Linked DNA regions of Homo sapiens: region 1 is linked to region 2. The links are contacts of gene promoters, found by promoter capture Hi-C in human tissues and cell types (Jung and others, 2019). All regions are on one chromosome and are shown on one strand. The core of a region is centred on a gene start or on the middle of the fragment in contact, and the rest is flanking DNA. Distances in the headings are between cores, read along the strand shown. Region 1 overlaps TTBK2 (tau tubulin kinase 2). Region 2 holds the start of UBR1 (ubiquitin protein ligase E3 component n-recognin 1).

Region 1 (4,726 bases), core at 1,435-3,934, 320 kb before region 2:
AAAAAAAAAAAAGCACCTTGAAAACTTAGGTTGGCCGGGCATGGTGGCTTATGCCTGTAATCCCAGCATTTTGGGAGGCTGAGGCAGTCAGATCACTTGAGGTCAGGAGTTCAAGACCAGCCTGGCCAACATGGTGAAACCCTGTCTCTACTAAAAATACAAAAATTAGCTGGGCGTGGTGGTGGGCACCTGTAATCCCAGCTACTTATGAGGCTGAGGCAGGAGAATTGCTTGAATCTAGAAGGCGGAGGTTACAGTGAGCCAAGATTGCGCCACTGCACTCCAGCCTGGGTGACAGAGCGAGACTCCAGCTCAAAAAACAAAACAAAACAAAAACAAAAGAAAAAGAAAAAAAAAACTTAGGTCATGCCAATCCTACGAAATAAAACTTTAAAATTTTGATCAATTAGAATTTTCAAGCTGATTTTAAAATACAAAATCTAAAACAATAACACCCTAATTTGACAATCACTTTAAAAGTAAAAAGCATTTCATCTATTTTCATAGAAGTCTCTGTCAATTATAACAACATTTTTTTTCTTTTTTTGAGACAGAGTTTCACTCTTGTCGCCCAGGCTGGAGTGCAGTGACGCGATCTCGGCTCACTGAAACCTCCACCTCTCGGATTCAAGCGATTCTCCTGCCTCAGCCTCCTGAGTAGCTGGGATTACAGGCGCCCACCACCACACTGGGCTATTTTTTGTATTTTTAGTAGAGACAGGGTTTCGCCATGTTGGGCAGGGTGGTCTCAAACTCCTGACCTCAGGTGATCTGCCTGCCTTGGCCTACCAAAGTGCTGGGATTACAGGTGTGAGCCACGGCACCCGGCGTGTTAGAGAATTTTTAAAAATTCTAAACAGGAAAATGTTAAGTGCTGTTGAACTCCAAATAAAATACAGAGATGAATCTCCAAATTAACATTCCATTTGGGAAGCAAGAATGACAATTTGGGGCACACACATAGACTGAGTGGGTCTCTGGTATATCTAAAGACCAAAGGAGAGGTTGGGGGTTTTATTAGAGAGATGTCATATACTGTTTTGAAAGAAAGTTCATTGGCATCAGAGAAGCTTTTGGGAGCTGGCAGGCTCTGACTGGTGAGTGACAGAGGTATGTAAATTTAGTCTTGGAGTCACAGCAGGCCATTTCAGCAGCTGGGCTTGTAAGAAATTAAATTCTTGGAGCAGGTGCTATGTGCCCCAAGTACTTTCTCCCTGGCCTCTTGATTGATTTAGTTGACTATGACAAGAATGACCTAATTTGTATAATCAACTTTCGCAGTGCCATAATGAAATAAACAGGTGTCAGATCAATCAGCTATGTTATTTTTTTACAGTGTGAAATGTGTATTACTTTTTCACTTGCAGATTTTTTTTTTTTTTTTTTTTTTGAGACAGAGTCAAGCTCTGTCTCTCAGGCTGGGGTGCAGTGGCATAATCTCTGCTCACTGCAACCTCCGCCCCCGGGGTTCAAGCGATTCTCCTGCCTCGGCCTCCCAAATAGCTAGGATTACAGGCATGCACCACCATGCCCAGCTAATTTTTTATATTTTTAGTAGAGATGGGGTTTTGCCATGTTGGCCAGGCTGGTCTCGAACTCCTGGCCCCAAGTGATCCACCCACCTTGGCCTCCCAAAGTGCTGGGATTACAGGTGTGAGCCATCGTGCCCGGCCACTTGCAGACTTTTTACTAAGCACCTACTACATGCAAGGCCCTAGCAACACAAAGAGGAAGGAAATTCTTGCCCTAGAGGGGAAACTAGACTTTCTGTAATTATACAGTTGATATAGTTCAGCATGAACTGACCTGGGGGAAAAAATAGCAAATATTAATTGGTATTTGTCTATATATTTCTTTCAAAGTAATTCCAGGTCTTATTTATATGGTTGGTCATCGCTCCCTTAGACCCTCCCATGAGAGGCTTTTCTAGTTCACAGTTTTCCTTCACCAAGTGAAAAGGCTCCTGCCAGTTCTGTAACTCTATATTCTAGGGTTTTTTTTTTTTTTTTTAAATATTGCTGACTGAACACAATACTTAGCACACAATGAAACCTCCTCTTAGAAGTGACCTGGAATGTCTCAAAGTAGAAAAATTAGTCTTCAGTACATTATACTGACTCCTGTAATTACTGTGAGTGGCAACATCCTCTCAGTGAGCCACTTTAAGGGTCACAGTTAGATCCTGGCACTGGTGTCACGAGTATTTCATATGCTCTGAGAAGACCAGTGATTTTTCAGGGACTTGTTCCACCTGACTTGGTAACCGATGACCTTCACCACTACCTTTGCCTAAATGGATCAATGCTAGAATGAACCTCTTTATCAACAATTTACAAGGATATAATCTAGAAAAGCACTGATAATGGCTCCCCGAAAAAAAAGAAAGAAAAAAAAAAAAACTTACAACCTAGTAAAGTAGTATCTGTAGTTCTGACAGTGGAAGCATATTTAAAAGGTAGTTTGGCCTAAAATAGTTCAAATAGTTCAAATCAATAGTTCAGATTTATTATAGAGATAATTAAAGATCAGAAATAAACTGGCTACTAACAGATTTTTCAGATATTAGTTCAATATAATTTATTTATTGATAAAAGAGTCATAATGGACACTAACATACATGTACTACATGGTAATCCAAATGTTTATTGAAAGAATTCCCTCTATTCCTGAGGAAAGAGAAAGGGAAATAGATGAATATTTGAACTCAAGAAGCTTAGTCTATTATCGTCACCTTTTTTCCATTTTAATCACTCAGTATTCTTTCAAGTCCCTTTTTCCCTTATGTCTAGCCACTATTCTGCTTTTTTTCCAACTACCTCAATTCCTTTGCATTTCCTTCTTTCACACCTCAGGAAACAAACCACACCTCCATCTCTGAATACACTTCTACTTTCATTCAATCCTACTTTTTCTCTTATCTCTTATGCTTCAATATGATACCACACACTCCAAGGACCTCGTCCATCTTCTCCACACAGGCTCTCTTTTATAGGACTCAGGTTCCTCTCCCACCCAGACCCTCCCTCTGCATTTATTCTCCATTCCTTTCTCCTTCCCTGGTTATTGTTTCTTTTCCTAAACTCTGATCCAAATCTTGAGTATGCAATATGGAAAGAAATAATTCCTTCCCAGGAAAATTATATCATGTTCAGGAATATGAATGAGTGAGAAAGTATACATAAGAGTGTTATTAGCACATGGTCTGTGTTTCCAGGCAAGGTATTATATAACTGAAGCAGATTAAGGGAATAAGTAAGAAAATGTGTGGAAGAACTGAAGAGATATGAGAAAAAATAGTAAGAACGAATATCCTTTTCATATTTCATTCCCCATAATCTAAGGCAAACTAGTGCTTGTGGGCCAAATCTGGCCTGCTTACCTATTTTTTTTTAATAGACTTATTGGAACACAGTCAGTCTCGTCTGTTTACACGTTGGCCATGGCAGCTTTTGCACTATAACAGCAATGACAGTAGTGACAGAGACAGCATAGCTCACAGATATTTATCTGACCCTTTATAGATAAAGCTTGCTGGCTCATGATTTAAAGCGTCCTCTTACCTTCTAAACTTTCATTCTCCCTCTACGAAGAAATTCAGGGTTCTGGGACATACACTATAAATTTTTCTCTTTAACACTGATTCTCCAGGTATTCTACCATATCATTTGCAAACAGAAAAAAATCAGAAGTTGGCAAACTTTTTCTTAGAGGGCAGACAGTAATGGTTAGGCCTGTGGGCAAGATTCACTGATGGATGCTACAATTAATAGGAAAAGTATGACAAGAAACACAGTGCTGACATAGTTGCAAATATCTTCCCACAAGATTATTTCTTACAAAGAGAAAAACAGTAACTTTATAGTAGAAAGAACTGGCCACTGTAACCAAATTGTCAACATAAGTATCATCAGTAATGAGACATACTGACATTATGTACCTCCTTGTTTAATGCCATAGGTTTTCCTCTGATCTTTGTTCTAAAGTTATCTCATAGATTCTGATAAGTAGTGTTTACATTATCATTTTTTTCTATAACTTTTAGTTTTTATTTTCCTTTTCACCCAAGAGTACAGTCATGTATCGCTTAACAACGGGGATACATTCTAACAAATGCCATCGTTAAGCAATTTCATCATTATCCAAATGATCACAGCGTACTTAAAAAAACTATATTGTATAGCCTATTACGTGCCTAGGCTATATGGTATAACCTATTGCTCCTAGGTTACAAACCTGTACAGCATGTCACTGTTCTGAATACTGGAGGCAAGTGTAACACAATGGTTAAGTATTTGGGTATTATAACATTATCTAAACATAGAAAAGGTAGAGTAAAACTACAGTATTGTAATCTTATAGGACCACTGTCATATATGCGGTGTATCACTGATTGCGATGTCATTACACGGCACATGACTGTAGTTTAATAGGTTCTTAAATTTCCAGTAAAAGGGCCTTTGATATTTTAATTTTGTTGGTAATTTCTAGTTTTCTTGCAGTGTGATCAGATAATGTAATACTTCTACTTTATGGAACTACTTACATGTTTGTTTGTGACCTAATACCTGATCAATTTTTGTGAATGTTCCAGGGGCCCCTGGGCAGGAGGTATAGTCTCTATCATCAAGGTATAGAGTTCAGAAAACATACATATGATCTACCTTACTACGATCACGCTGTTTAAGTCTTCTATCTTCCTATTCTCTGTTCACTTGATCTGTCTTAA
Region 2 (4,433 bases), core at 1,253-3,752:
TCAGTTCCCCTGGTAATTCTTAAGCAATGGCTTTTATCAATGTCCACTAATTCATACGTATTATTTTATTTGAATTGCATGTGAGATAATGTTAGGAATACTACAGCCTTCACGCTTACTAATAGCAATATGAATGAAAAAGGATCTGCAGACTAAGAAGGAAGTTTAAGGAAATCAGAGACTATAACCAGGGATTAGACTCTAATGGAAATTGTACGATTGCTTAAACCTCTATAAATGTCCCATACTATTTAACTTTGTCTAAAGATAAACAATAAGGAGTAGGGGGAACAACTGAGCTTGTATTGCTTAACAGCAAAGTAGTAAACTTGGAAGCCAGTGTCATACCATGGCTAGAATAAAATTAAAAACAGTAATAGCTTTTAAAAGAGAAAAAGAGAAAGAGAGAGGTAGAATGATCTGTAGGGTCTTCAGTAGACAGAGAGATCCAAGCCAAAAAAGGGGTTATAAAGCTTAACAGTCACAGGACTTCATTTACTGACATTACTCTACCTTGAATTAAAATTATTTGGGCCCTTATATTACCTGTGTCACCAGACTGTGAGTTCCTTGAGGCTATATTACACAATCTACCTACTACTTTGCAAAACCCAAAGCCCTGCCCAACAAAATCTAATAATATTTCCTGAGGTAAAGAGTTGCCACATAAATTCTAGCTCAATTCCTGTATCATTATCTCCAATTCCAAATTAGTGACGTCCAGAATGATGGGGTTTTATTGTATTATCTGGAAAAAATTAATGTATCAAAGCTTTAAATAAATATTAGTCTTCAGATACAAAACTATAACAATTCTTCTGACCACAGCAGTTTCCCCACTCCTTCTAACAAGCAAAACTCACAAACTACCATTAAAATGTTTCAGTTGCTTTTAAATTTGTCCTACCTCCTCATTCCTTATCATCTCAAATAAGATGCTTCCTCCTTCAGGAACAGTAGTGAAGTGAATTTGAACTGCTATTTGGGGTGGAGGAAAACGGCAAGCACTGACATAGTCAGTGGCCAAATCCTTTTTCCAACTCCCTCCCTACCTTGTTCCTACCTCCTAGACAGTCTCTTCAGTCCCTGGAGTTGACTCATGCCGTAGCTCCCTCTGTAGTTCCCTCTGTTCTCGCATAAAACAATGTTCAATTGTATGCAGGGTTAAAAAAAAAAACAAAAAACCTTCAAGAATGCTTTTAATCTGTAATCCCAGCACTTTGGGATGCCGAGGCAGGTGGATCACCTGAGGTCAGGAGTTCGAGATCAGCCTGGCCAACATGGTGAAACCCCGTCTCTAATAAAAATAAAAATAAAAAAAATTAGGCAAGCATGGTGGCAGGCACCTGTAATCCCAGCTACTCAAGAGGCTGAGGCAGGAGAATTCCTGAACTCGGGAATTTGCAGTTCAATTCCTGAACTCGGAAGGTTGCAGTGAGCCGAGATTACACCACTGCACTTCAGCCTGGGCAACAAGAGCAAAACTCTGCCTCAAAAAATAAATAAAATAAAATAATGTTTTTATTAAACTACAAGCCAAAGAAACTTCAGAAAAAATGTGTATATCCCAAATCTCTAAATGCTGCTATTTAGAAAGACAAACTAATAAAACATCATGCGGTGACAGATATTTGAATATTTTCTACATATCTCCACACTAGATGCCCTGGGCATCCAGAACATTCCCTAACATTGCCCCCTACTCTTATCTTCCTCGGCAGCTTTCTCCCTGTAGCTAGTGACTCAAATTTGTTCACTATCTGTGCCTTCCCATTCTTTCAAAATGCAAGAGCAAAGTATAGATTCCGACATCAATTAATGGTATTGCTCTGGCTTGAAATGTTTGGGAGTCCTTTCTTCACCTTTAAAAAGTAGCGACAGATGATGGGTTTCTCCACTGAGGGTTAGGCCTGGGGTTCCCAAGATGCTATACGCAAGGACAATTACTACACCTCACATCTAGACATGACTTGACAGTAGCAGCACTACCTACCAATATCAGGTCCCGGCCAGCAGGCTATGCAATAAAATACCAGGTGCTGCGTTCCCATCATCAAGAGTAAAGGGTTAGTACTGCTTCTATACGAAAATGGCTCTTGCTCCAACCCCGCCTCGGCCCCCACATCAAACCGTCTAATAACATCACTGGTTCTTTCTACTTCAGAATAGAGACATGCACACTTGAGATCATCAAGAATAATACATAACAAAGTCATTATATTCCGTAGACTTGGCTGGCAGAAATGTGGGTTGCGACTAACTTTTTATTCGGTGGCTTCCTTCCAGATCAATCCAGATAACTCCCCCTCCCCAGAGCCGCCATAAGGGGTGAAGCCCCACATCCTCCTAAGCGCAGTAGGGAGGGACCGGGGGGAGGACAAAAGAGACTTGCCTATAGGGACTTACAGATGCCAGACGCTGAGGGGTCTGGGGTAACTCCGCGCTGATTTCCATCCTCTCAGTACCTCCAGCCTCCTCGTCCGCCATCTTGAGGGAAACTGACGCCTGCAGTTGCCGACCCCCGGCCAGAGGCAAGCGGAAACCTGTGGCCGGTCGGAGAGACAGGGACGACACTTTTACGACGGCCCCTGAAGTCGGGTTTGACGCAGACTCGAGGAGTGGCTTCCGGCCCGCTTCCCGGAAGCAAGCGTCACGACGTGAAGGGACTGGAGATTTTTTTTTTCCCCTCTAATTTATCAGGCGTAGCTCTTGGTAGCTGAATGGTTGTATATCTGGGTTTGGTGCTGGGAACTGTTGCATCTACGAGGTAAAAAAAACAAAGTCAGCGTCCATTATGAAAGGAAGAAAACTTGTCGGGGGCTAAAGCAAGAACCTGTCCTAGCTGGCCGGTTGTTGGCCTGGGGATGTTTTGTATCCCAACCTCCCTGCAGTAGTTCCCCAGAGCCTACAAAATGAAAAAGAAAGTACTCACACATCTTCTATTTTTAGGATTCTACCCCGTGGGCACTTGCACATGTGTACAAAAAAAGCTCGGGATCCAGCTTTATTGGGGGACACGGGGGGAAATAACAAAAAATTGGAAACCTAGTCATTCATCGATAGAGGAAAGACAAGATATACTATGGTACATTCGCATTTTGAAATACTGTGCAGCTCTTGAGCAAGATAAATCTGCGTGAAAAGATCAAGATAAATTGAGAGAAAAAAAAGCCAAGTTGCTGCAAACTATATATTTGCACACATAGGCATTTAAATGTGAAGGAGTAAGTCTGAAAGGGGAAAGGGCAAAGTAGTAACTCTGAGGGCCAGGATTCGGATTGGAGGAAGAAGGTGGTCAAGAGCTACTTTACCTTCATTTGTATTTTAAATTTTTTACAAAACAAATAATTTTAAAGTATATTTTTAACAAAGGGAAGAAAATAAAGCTCCAAACAATGTGAAAAGTAGAGGAGGCTTTCCAAATGCTGTGGTCCACCTTGATTTATAGAACTTTCCTGCCTAAACAATGTTTCTGCTCAAATGAACTACTTCCTGGGTGCTAAAATACTGTTTTTCCAGCCTTTTTTGCCCAACAACCACAATAAATACATTTTACATCTTATCACGGTACACCTATACAAAATTAAATGGGTATATATAGAATATGTATATATATACTGAAACTTAAATTTTCTGAAACAATACTTCCAATATGTCATATTTTCTATTCAATTGCAATATGTTTATGCATTTAAGCCAAAATACTGGTTGTAGTTATTAAAGTGATACTATAACCCACAATAGGTATTGTCCCACATTTTGATAAAAATTGCCCTAAAAGTTACCTTGTCCCTTCCTGTCTCTATGCTTTTACTTCTGTAGTTCTCTTATGCTACCCCACGCTCTTCTCTTTTTCTTCTTTCATTCCTAGATAAATGAAATAGACTAGAACGTTCAGAAATAGGTCGGGGCAGTGGCTCACGCCTGTAATCCCAGCACTTTGGGAGGCCAAGGTGAGTGGATCACCTGAGGTCAGGAGTTCGAGACCAGCCTGGACAACACAGTGAAACCCCATGTCTATTAAAGATACAAAAATTAGCTGGGTGTGGTGGCAGGTGCCTGTAATCCCAGCTACTCAGGAGGCTGAGGCAGGAAAATTGCTTGAACCCAGGAGGTAGAGTTTGCAGTGAGCCAAGATCATGCCACTGGCACTCCAGCCTGGGCTACAAGAGCAAAACTCTGTCTCAAAAAAAAAAAAAAAGAAAAAGAAAAAACAGAAAATAAAAAGAAATAATAGCCACTTATCAACATCTTAATGTAATCAAAGCACTAGTATATTAATAACACTAGCTATATATTAATAACAATCCTTTAGGTAGATGTTACTACTTCTATTTTACTGTCATGAGAAACTGAGAAAACTGAAGTTTAGAGAAGTTACATAATTTGGTTAGGGACATGCAGCTTCCAAGTGACACAGCAGATATTCAGCC

Evidence for each region. Contacts are between HindIII fragments. The study calls those that stand out against the background at their distance.
Region 1: a fragment that was not itself captured here is called in contact with the fragment with the promoter of UBR1 in region 2 in 1 of the 25 tissues and cell types used here (aorta).

What each region holds. Positions count from the first base shown.
Region 1 is chr15:42,783,748-42,788,473 of GRCh38, forward strand. All of the region lies in intron 10 of TTBK2 (tau tubulin kinase 2), which reads right to left. Among named protein-coding and RNA genes, the nearest start is that of TTBK2-AS1, 47 kb to the left of the region's middle. The HindIII fragment of the contact is 4,613 bases long and covers 379-4,726 here.
Region 2 is chr15:43,103,536-43,107,968 of GRCh38, forward strand. UBR1 (ubiquitin protein ligase E3 component n-recognin 1) reads right to left here and starts at 2,503. Exons shown (of 47, transcript NM_174916.3): 1 at 2,407-2,503. The coding sequence starts at 2,487. RefSeq lists an enhancer at 2,322-2,601. The HindIII fragment of the contact is 7,070 bases long and covers 1-4,433 here.